Linked DNA regions of Homo sapiens: regions 1 and 3 are each linked to region 2. The links are contacts of gene promoters, found by promoter capture Hi-C in blood cells and fetal thymus (Javierre and others, 2016). All regions are on one chromosome and are shown on one strand. The core of a region is centred on a gene start or on the middle of the fragment in contact, and the rest is flanking DNA. Distances in the headings are between cores, read along the strand shown.

Region 1 (2,790 bases), core at 291-2,790, 240 kb after region 2:
ACAACTTCTGTGAGGGTTCATTTGTCAATATCTATCACAATGACAAGAAACATACTCTTTGGCCCAGCAATTCCACCTCCAGGAGTGTGTCCTACACTCAGGTGTTAACATGAGCTAAATGACAGTGTGCATTGGCCAGGCACGGTGGCTTATGCCTATAAATCCCAGTACTTTAGGAGGCCAAGGCGGGAGGATTGTTTGGGCCCAGGAATTTGAGACCAGCCTGGGCAAGATGGCAAGATTCCTTTCTCTAAAATAAAAAAAAAAAAAAGTAAAATAAATGACAGTGTGTAAAGTTATTCACTACAACATTGTAATAGTGAAAGGCTGGAAAGGATACAAATGCCTGTCCTTAGAGGCCTCGTTAAAAAAGCCCTGTACAGCCCTCCCATGGAATATGAGGTGGGTGTAGAACAACTCAGGAGGCATTCTCTGAATTACCAGAAACTGAGCAAAAAAAGTAAGGTTCAGGGTGGGCGCGGTGGCTCACATCTGTAATCCTAGCGCTTTGGGAGGCCAAGGCAGGAGGAGCACTTGAGCCCAGGAGTTCCAGCCCAGCCTAGGCAACATAGCGAGATGCCTATCTCTACAAAAGTTAAAAAGAGATTTAGCCAGGTGGGGTGGCGCCCACCTATAGTCCCAGCTACTCGGGAGGCTGAGATGGAAGGATAGCCCGAGCCCAGCAGGTCGAGGCTGCAATGAGCCATGATCACGCCACTGCACTCCAGCCTGGGCAACAAAGTGAGACTCTTATTTCTAAAATAAATAAATAAATAAACAAATAAATAAATAAATAAAGTGCACTATTCAATGGTTTTTTGGTATAATTAATTTTCAAAAATGGTGGTTAAAAAGAGATAACAGACAATTTGCCATTTTAGCTATTTTTGAGTGTATGATTCAGTGGCATTCATTACATTCACAGTGTTGTGTAAAACTGGATATCCATGTGCAGAAGAATGGAGCTGGACCATTACACTCCAAACACAAATTAGAATGGATCCCTCATGTCTTTTTATCTTCTAATTTTGGGACGTTTATGTACTATCTAATTAAAAAAATTAGCTTAGCATGGTGAGGGGCAGCTGTGGTCACAGCTACTTGGTAGGCTGAGGTGGGAGGATTGCTTGAGCCCCGGAGTTAGAGGCTGCAATGAGCTATGATCGTGCCATTGCACTCCAGCCTGGGTGACAGGAGACACCGTCCCTTAAACATTTTTTTTGGAGAGGAAAAAAAAAAAGACAAGCTGTTCCTAAGGTGCCTGGGAATCCCAGCCCTTATGGCCCTCTTCATTTAGCGTCTTGCTTCCATGCCTCTGGTTCCATCCCACGTGGTGACAGTACACATGAAACCTGTCTGCTCCTTGATTTCCACAAAAGACCCCATTGCACACAGCCGCTGGAGGTACAATAAATAAGCTTTAATGAGATTCTGGGTGCTGGAGACAGACAAGGAGCTTACGTGCCACCAAAGCAACCAATGTTCCTTTATCTCCCCAACTCTGTGGGGTCCCACTGGCCTCCTCACCCTTGAGCCCTTTGCCCCTGCCATCCTGCTGGTTCCTATCTCTTCCCCACACTTCTCTGTTCCCGGCTCTTCCATCTCTGTCCAGAGCAAATCCTCTGTCCTGCTTATTTTCTCTTGCAGAGCAGCTCAAGCTTTGCATTCCCATTTAGCATCTTGGCCCAAGGTCTTCTCTCCCTCAACGTATTTTCCCAAACAGTTTTCTTTATAAGAGGAATTCTGCTGTCTGCCCTCAAGATCATAGACCTTTTTAACTTGTCAGTTGCACTGAGCAGCTGGGCCTCCTGGGTCTTGGGTCGCATCCATCTTGGTCCTATAGGAGCGTGTCCTGAGCAACTGCAGCGCTGCCTCCCCCTGCATCCCTTCCCCCTTGTGTTGGAAATTGCATTTGCTTCTTTTGTGGGTTATTTCCTGCCAGTCCCAGCTTGCTGGCTGCAGATGCTGGCAGAAAGTGGCTGCAGATGCTGGCAGAAAGTGGCTGCAGCTGACAACCTTCTTCAAGTTCACATCTAGTAGTTTTCTCTGCTCCTTGGACACCCCCCAGGCAGCTGCTTGCGGCCTGAATTGCAGCCTCTGGTGACCAGGGTCAGTGGCTGTTTCTTGTAACCACAGAGATCTGACGGATACAGAGATTTAGAAGCTCAAGGCCAGAGGCCAAATTTTTACCAAAATTCTCTGGTGGCCCACACCCTTCTGTGTGGTCTGCTATGCAGTAAAGGCTTAACCTTGCCCAAAGAAAGATCGGGCCCTTTATCCTCAGCTCCTGGGCATTCATCTCTAAGCCCTTGGAATATCCTGCCTGGTAGCTGATCTTGGAGTCTTGGGCCACTCTGGGTGGTTCATGCTAATGATGTGATTTATGGTGGGGGTCTTGGGCCACACGGTATTGGCTTGATGTATGAGGTCAGCCGTGTGGATGGTGAGCTGCTTAATTCAGCACTTTGGGAGGCCAAGGCAGAAGTATCACTTGGAGCCAAGAGTTCAAGACCAGCCTGGGCAACACAGGGAAACCTCGACTTTACAAATAATAAAAAGATTAGCCAGACGTGGTGGCACATACCTGTAGTCATAGCTACTCAGGAGGCTGAGGTGGGAGGATGACTTGGCGTTGAGAAGTCAAGGCTGCAATGAACTGTGATCTCACCACTGTACTCTAGTCTGCCAACAGAGCCAGACCCTGTCTCAAGACAAACAAAAAACTCTGGACACAAAGATCTCGAGTGAGCTGCTCTGGTTGGCAGTATTGGCAGTACTTCTTGCATGTTG
Region 2 (2,700 bases), core at 106-2,605:
AGCACTTTGGGAGATCGAAACGGGCAGATCACCTGAGGTCAGGAGTTCCAGACCAGCCTGGCCAACATGGTGAAACCCCGTCTCTACTGAAAATACAAAAAAGTTAGTCGGGTGTGGTGGCATGTGCCTGTAGTCCCAGCTACTTGGGAGGCTGAGGCAGGAGAATGGCGTGGACCTGGGAGGCGGAGCTTGCAGTGAGCCGAGATCCCGCCACTGCACTCCAGCCTGGGCGACAGAGCGAGACTTCATCTCAAAAAAACAAAACAACAACAACAAACAACAACAACAAAACAACTTCTAACTCCTATCTCAAGGATGGGGGAAACCGAGGCCCAGAGAGCGTCAAATCGCTGTTCAGAGCCAGGAAGCAGCACAGAAGCCTCAGAAGAGGGGGCCCAGGGTCTGCCTGAATGGGGCCAGGAGGTTGAGGTGAGGATGAGAGGGGGAGGAGCGGGGGGAACCGAGCAAGCCCCGCCCCCATACCTGCCAGGAATGTGACCAGCAACGCAGCCCACAGAACCTTCATCTTCCTGCCTGTGATTGGCCAGTCTGGGGAAGGAGAAACTGTCAATCAACCGCCAGTGAGGACTCCTCCCACCCCCAGCCCGGCCCCAACCCGGCCTCACCCCAGGTTAGCCTTCCAAGCCTTGTTGCATTATCTGCAACAGCCTAATCCCAGCACATTTACCAAGCCGCCCCCAACCCATTCCCTATTTAACTCCCTCCTGGTCTTCTCTTATCTCCCCATCCCCAGGTCGGCCTCCATAGAAAATTCCATCTTCCTCTCCCGGGGTTCAAATTCCATCCCCCCACCCCCTCCCCACCGCCGGTTCCATCTCAGTCCCAGTCTCGCATTCCTCATTCTCCCTTCACATTCTAAGCTCCAACCTCACAGTTAAGCGCCGTGTTCCATTTATGAGCTAATTCAGTCCTCATTTTAAAGTTCTCCAATCGACGGCTAGCTACCGTGTCGCTGCCCCTGGCTCCCCAGTTATGGAGATCTGAGGACACTGGGGACACCCAGTAGGTGCTCGATAAATGATAGTGACAACTCGTGGAGTCCTGCTATGGCTTACATCCCAGTCCAGCTGCTCTCCCCACCCCACCTTCTAGCGGGTCGGGTCGTCTCTGCTGCCCAGCCCTTCCCAGGTCCAGTCCCCTGCTGCTTGCCTCACCCCCGCTCCTCCTCTCCCCAAGCCCGACCCCGAGTAGCTCTCCTGAGACTACCTGGAGGCCAGGGGTTCCCAGGGTCCCAGCTCTTTCTAGAGGCCCCTGAGCTCATCCCCGTGCCCCCGACTGCGCTTCTCACCGGCTCCTGGGGAAGGACGTCCTTCACCTCCGCTGGGGCTGAGTAGGACTCAAGGATCCCAGACTTGTCCAATTATAGGGCTCCCCCTGTCCCGCCCCCTCCCCCAGGGATAGGGCGGGCTGGGCCAGCCCCCAGTCACGAGGTGGGCTGTTCTCCCCCTGCCCCAGGCACAGCAGGGCAGAGGGAGGAAGGAGGTGGGGCATAGAGGTCTTTTGACCACCCCCCACAGTCCCCAGGAAGGGAGGACACCTCGCCCAGTAATACAGACACCCTCCTCCATTCTGGGGGCCAAGCGTGGAAGGGGAATGTGGAGGCTGCCGCCCAGAGTCCTCCTTTCCTGACCCTGTCCTTTCCTGTGCCTGGATGAATGTAATCTGGAGAGGGGGCTGGGGATCTGGACTCCTGGATCCCAGAAAGAAAGTAGGGCTAGGGGGCTGGACAGAAGTGGGATGGGAGGGGCTGGGGGCGGTAGCTCACGCCTGTAATCCCAGCACTTTGGGAGGCCACAGTGGGCGAATCACTTAAGGTCAGGAGTTTGAGACCAGCCTGGCCAACATGGTGAAACCCCATCTCTACTAAAAATACAAAAGTTAGCCAGGCGTGGTGGCGGGCGCCTGTAATCCTAGCTACTTGGGAGGCTGAGGCAGGAGAATCGCTTGAACCCGGGAGGCGGAGGTTACAGTGAGCCGAGATCTCGCCACTGCACTCCAGCCTCAGCAAGAGGGAGACTGTCTCAAAAAAAGAAAAAAAAGAAAGTGGGGCTAGGCGGCTGGACAGAAGTGGGATGGGAGGGGTGGGAACAGTATGATGCACCTGCTAAAAGTCGAGGCTTTGCAAATGGGACCTGGGTTTTAATCACAGCTTCCTCTTTGGTTGTGACCTTGAGCACAGGGGAGCCCCCTCCCCACATGTGAAATGAGATTCCAGCACCTCCCCCTGGCTGCCACAGGTATTGTGGTTTCCAGGGGCTTGAAGCCGTGCTTCTGGGTTAAGGTTAGGATTCTGGAGTCAAATTGCCAGGGCGTGAATCCTGGCTCTGCCAGTTGCCAGCTGTGTGACCTTGGGCAAATGACTTGTCCTCTCTGAGCATCAAGTTCCTTTGCTCATCAGACTGGGAAAGCAGCGGCACGGGTATGTTTGGTGACAAGCTAACGTGTATTGAGCATGGAGGACAGCCCTGGCACACAGCGGTCCTATGTTAGGGCTAGCAATGGACAGGCCACAGTGAACGCTCAGACGCTGTCACTTTCCTAAGCCCTGTTATAAATCCCAGATGTTTCAGAGGAGAAACCCGTGGTTCAGCAGCAAGACGAATGGCAAAACCACACAGTGAGAACTGGGAGAGACTGGGACTCATTCCTGGCTCCTGGAGCGGGTGGGATCAGAAGATT
Region 3 (2,700 bases), core at 170-2,669, 260 kb before region 2:
CCCCAAATGGGATGAGAAAGGGGCCCCTTGCTAAAGAACCTCCCCTGTAGAGTGGGGTCCAGTCACCCCGTCAGGCCCTGCCTGGGTCACCCCTTCCTATTCCACCTGGCTGAGTGTAGCTGTGTCCTGTGTCTGCCTCTGCAGTGCTGCCCGCCTGGCCCACTCCCCAAACGCCTGCTCCCCCTAGTGTCCAGCAGCCTCCTGGCCACTGTGCTCCCAGCCCGGGGCAATCTCGTCCTGCGGAGACGGCTCATTTACATTGGGCCACGCTTCATGATCGGGCCGGGGGTGTGGGGGGTTGGCACGGAGGCCCACTGCAGATGCCCACGCTCAGATGCCAGCCCCGCCTCCCTGGTGGGCCAGGGAGGAACCTTCCCAGAGCAACCGGCTTGAAGGGTGGGGGAGGAGACGGGGTCCCAGGTCGCAGGAAGGGCCCTGGCTCTGGCCGTAGGGAGCAGTGTTTGGTCACCTGGGCAGAACTCAGGGCTGGGTGGGTTCCCTTTATCTTGTCCTGGGCACTGTTCTGGGGCTGCCTCCCCCATCCCCATCGGAGCACCCCGTCTGTCAGGGAAGCAACTGTTGACCCCGTTACGCCAGCAGCCACAGGGAGCCGGGGCCCCAGAGAGCCGAGGGGCCTTCAGGGCATCTCCTGCCCAGCCTTACCCCGGCCCTCACCCCTCAGAGGGCATCTGTGGGGAGGCAGTCACTGAGTGCTGGCCCCGAGGGCAGGAGACAGAGCCTTGGCGAGCCTGGGAGTAGCAACCACTGACTGCTTCCAAATCCCCGCCCTGCCTCTGTGTGCCCTGGGGCCGAGGACTTCACTTCTCTGGGCCTCAGTGTCCTCATCTGTGAAGCGGGCATCACACCTGGCCCCCTGGGTGGTGGAGAGGAAGACGGGGCTATGGTGTAGCAAGCCTTGATGTGTGTGCTGTTGCCCTTGTCCTATGGACATCCATTTAGAACAGCGCCAGGTAAATGGGTCAGCACAGCCCCGGGTCAGGTGCGCCAGGCCCTGAGCTGAGGGGACTCCCACCCAGTGCCTCCCTCGCGACAGCCACGAGAGGCAGGTGCCCACTCAGCAATGAGGAAGCCATGGCTCGGAGAGTGAAGTCACCTGCCCAAGGTCACATACCTGGGCCACGGAGGAGCTGGCATCCCAGCTCCCTGTCCCCCCCACACCAGCAGAAGTGCCTGGGCCTGTGGCTGCCTTAAGGAGATTGAGGCAGTGCTGCGGGATGCATCTCCGTTCCTTACCAGGGATGGGGACACAAGACTGAGTCCAGTCGGAGTCCCAGTCCTCGAGAGCAGAGAGCACTGGGACAGGCAGGCGCTGGGGAAGGGGCGGGGACAGGCAGGCAAACCGGTCAGGCGGGCACTGGGCTGAGGCCTCCATCTGGATGGGCCTGCGCTGACAGTCCGGGCTGGTGTGGCAGCTGCTCGTGGGGCAGGCAGCTGGGGCCGTGAGGCCACCGTCAGGTACGAGTGGGACTGGGACTGGGGGTGGGGAGTGGTGGGCAGGCTACCAACTCTCAGCACCCCAGTTTCCTCTGCCCCTCAGCCTTTCCCTATCCCTGTCCCCCACACAGCATCCTTCCCTGTCCTGCTTTCGGCTCTTCACATTGGAAACGCGGTACACCCATCTTGCCCGAGTTTGCTGAGCCTCTCCCCAAATTGGACCACCGCGATTTCATTGCTCCCTCACAATTCCCCCTCCACCGTATCATTCAATGCCCACAGGTACCCAGCTCTGATTTTCACTCACCCTGCTTCTCATCTGCTCTCCAGCTCACCTCACTAGCTCCATGTCCTTCCAAAGCGTGCCAGCCTCCCACAGCGCCCACACCTTAATGACCCCTTGGTCACTCAGCCACCACACCGGACCCCCTATTTCCCCAGCCCATGTCTGCTCAGCACTCCCCAGTGTCCTAGCCTCTTGGAAACTCCCAGGAGCTTCCCAACACCCAGCCTCAAATTAACCCCTAGCCAACCCCAGCGGTTCTCCGTTCCCTCCTCTGGCCATCCCTCCTTATCCTGCCCCTCACTGTACCCTGAAGGCCACCTCTACCCCCTTCTCCCAAGTGACCTAGGAACCCAGCATCTGGGACTTGGCCTTTCCCCTGTCCAAGCTGTCGGGCAGGGCAGGGACCCTGACCTCAGCTCTCTGCTGTTCGTGCCCCAGAGGCTACGCCAAGCCTGTGTGCTCCCTCCTGCCTCAGGAGCAGGCCCCCAGCACCCAGCTGCCCGGCTGCCATGCACAAACATTACAAAGTCCACTTCGCCAAGGATGCCCAGAGCCCCAACGGGCACTACTTCTGGGACCCAGAGTTGGGGCACCGAAAAGGTACGGGTTCAGTTTGGGGGCGGGTGATGGCCGACAGAGGCCTGTGAGGAAGCCAGAGTGAATGGAGGAACAGAAGGGGAGCTGTCATCCCCAGGAGAGAAAAGCCACTTGCACTCCACCCAGAGGCATCTGTGTAGCAGCAGGGCCTGGGACCCAGGACCCGGACCACAGGGCCTGCGGGCCCAAAGATAGGAGCCTGGGCTGGAGTTGGAAGCAGGGGCCGCCTGGCCTGCCCTGCCCCGTTTCCAAACCCTGAGGCCTGTGTGGATGGCCTCCAGCCTGGAGGGGAGCAGTGTGCTGGGAGTGAGGGGTAGGAGAGGGAGCCCCCCCACTGAACATGTCTGGATGAGGCTGGGCCC

The links. The method cuts DNA at HindIII sites, captures the fragments that hold promoters and counts their contacts. A CHiCAGO score of 5 or more calls a contact.
Region 1: a fragment that was not itself captured here is called in contact with the fragment with the promoter of APOE in region 2 in 1 of 17 cell types (naive B cells); the score reaches 5.6 in naive B cells.
Region 3: the fragment with the promoter of NKPD1 here is called in contact with the fragment with the promoter of APOE in region 2 in 2 of 17 cell types (naive B cells and total B cells); the score reaches 7.7 in naive B cells.

Annotation. Positions count from the first base shown.
Region 1 is chr19:44,662,193-44,664,982 of GRCh38, reverse strand. PVR (PVR cell adhesion molecule) reads right to left here. Exons shown (of 8, transcript NM_006505.5): 8 at 1-2,790. Among named protein-coding and RNA genes, the nearest start is that of CEACAM19, 7.9 kb to the left of the region's middle. The HindIII fragment of the contact is 240 bases long and covers 1,421-1,660 here.
Region 2 is chr19:44,904,451-44,907,150 of GRCh38, reverse strand. It overlaps APOE (apolipoprotein E), which reads right to left and starts at 1,355. Exons shown (of 4, transcript NM_000041.4): 1 at 1,310-1,355; 2 at 484-549. The coding sequence starts at 526. RefSeq lists enhancers at 1-433, 1,236-2,038. The HindIII fragment of the contact is 10,718 bases long and covers 1-2,700 here.
Region 3 is chr19:45,159,701-45,162,400 of GRCh38, reverse strand. It overlaps NKPD1 (NTPase KAP family P-loop domain containing 1), which reads left to right and starts at 1,419. Exons shown (of 5, transcript NM_198478.4): 1 at 1,419-1,476; 2 at 2,180-2,341. The coding sequence starts at 2,251. RefSeq lists an enhancer at 1,137-1,769. The HindIII fragment of the contact is 37,147 bases long and covers 1-2,700 here.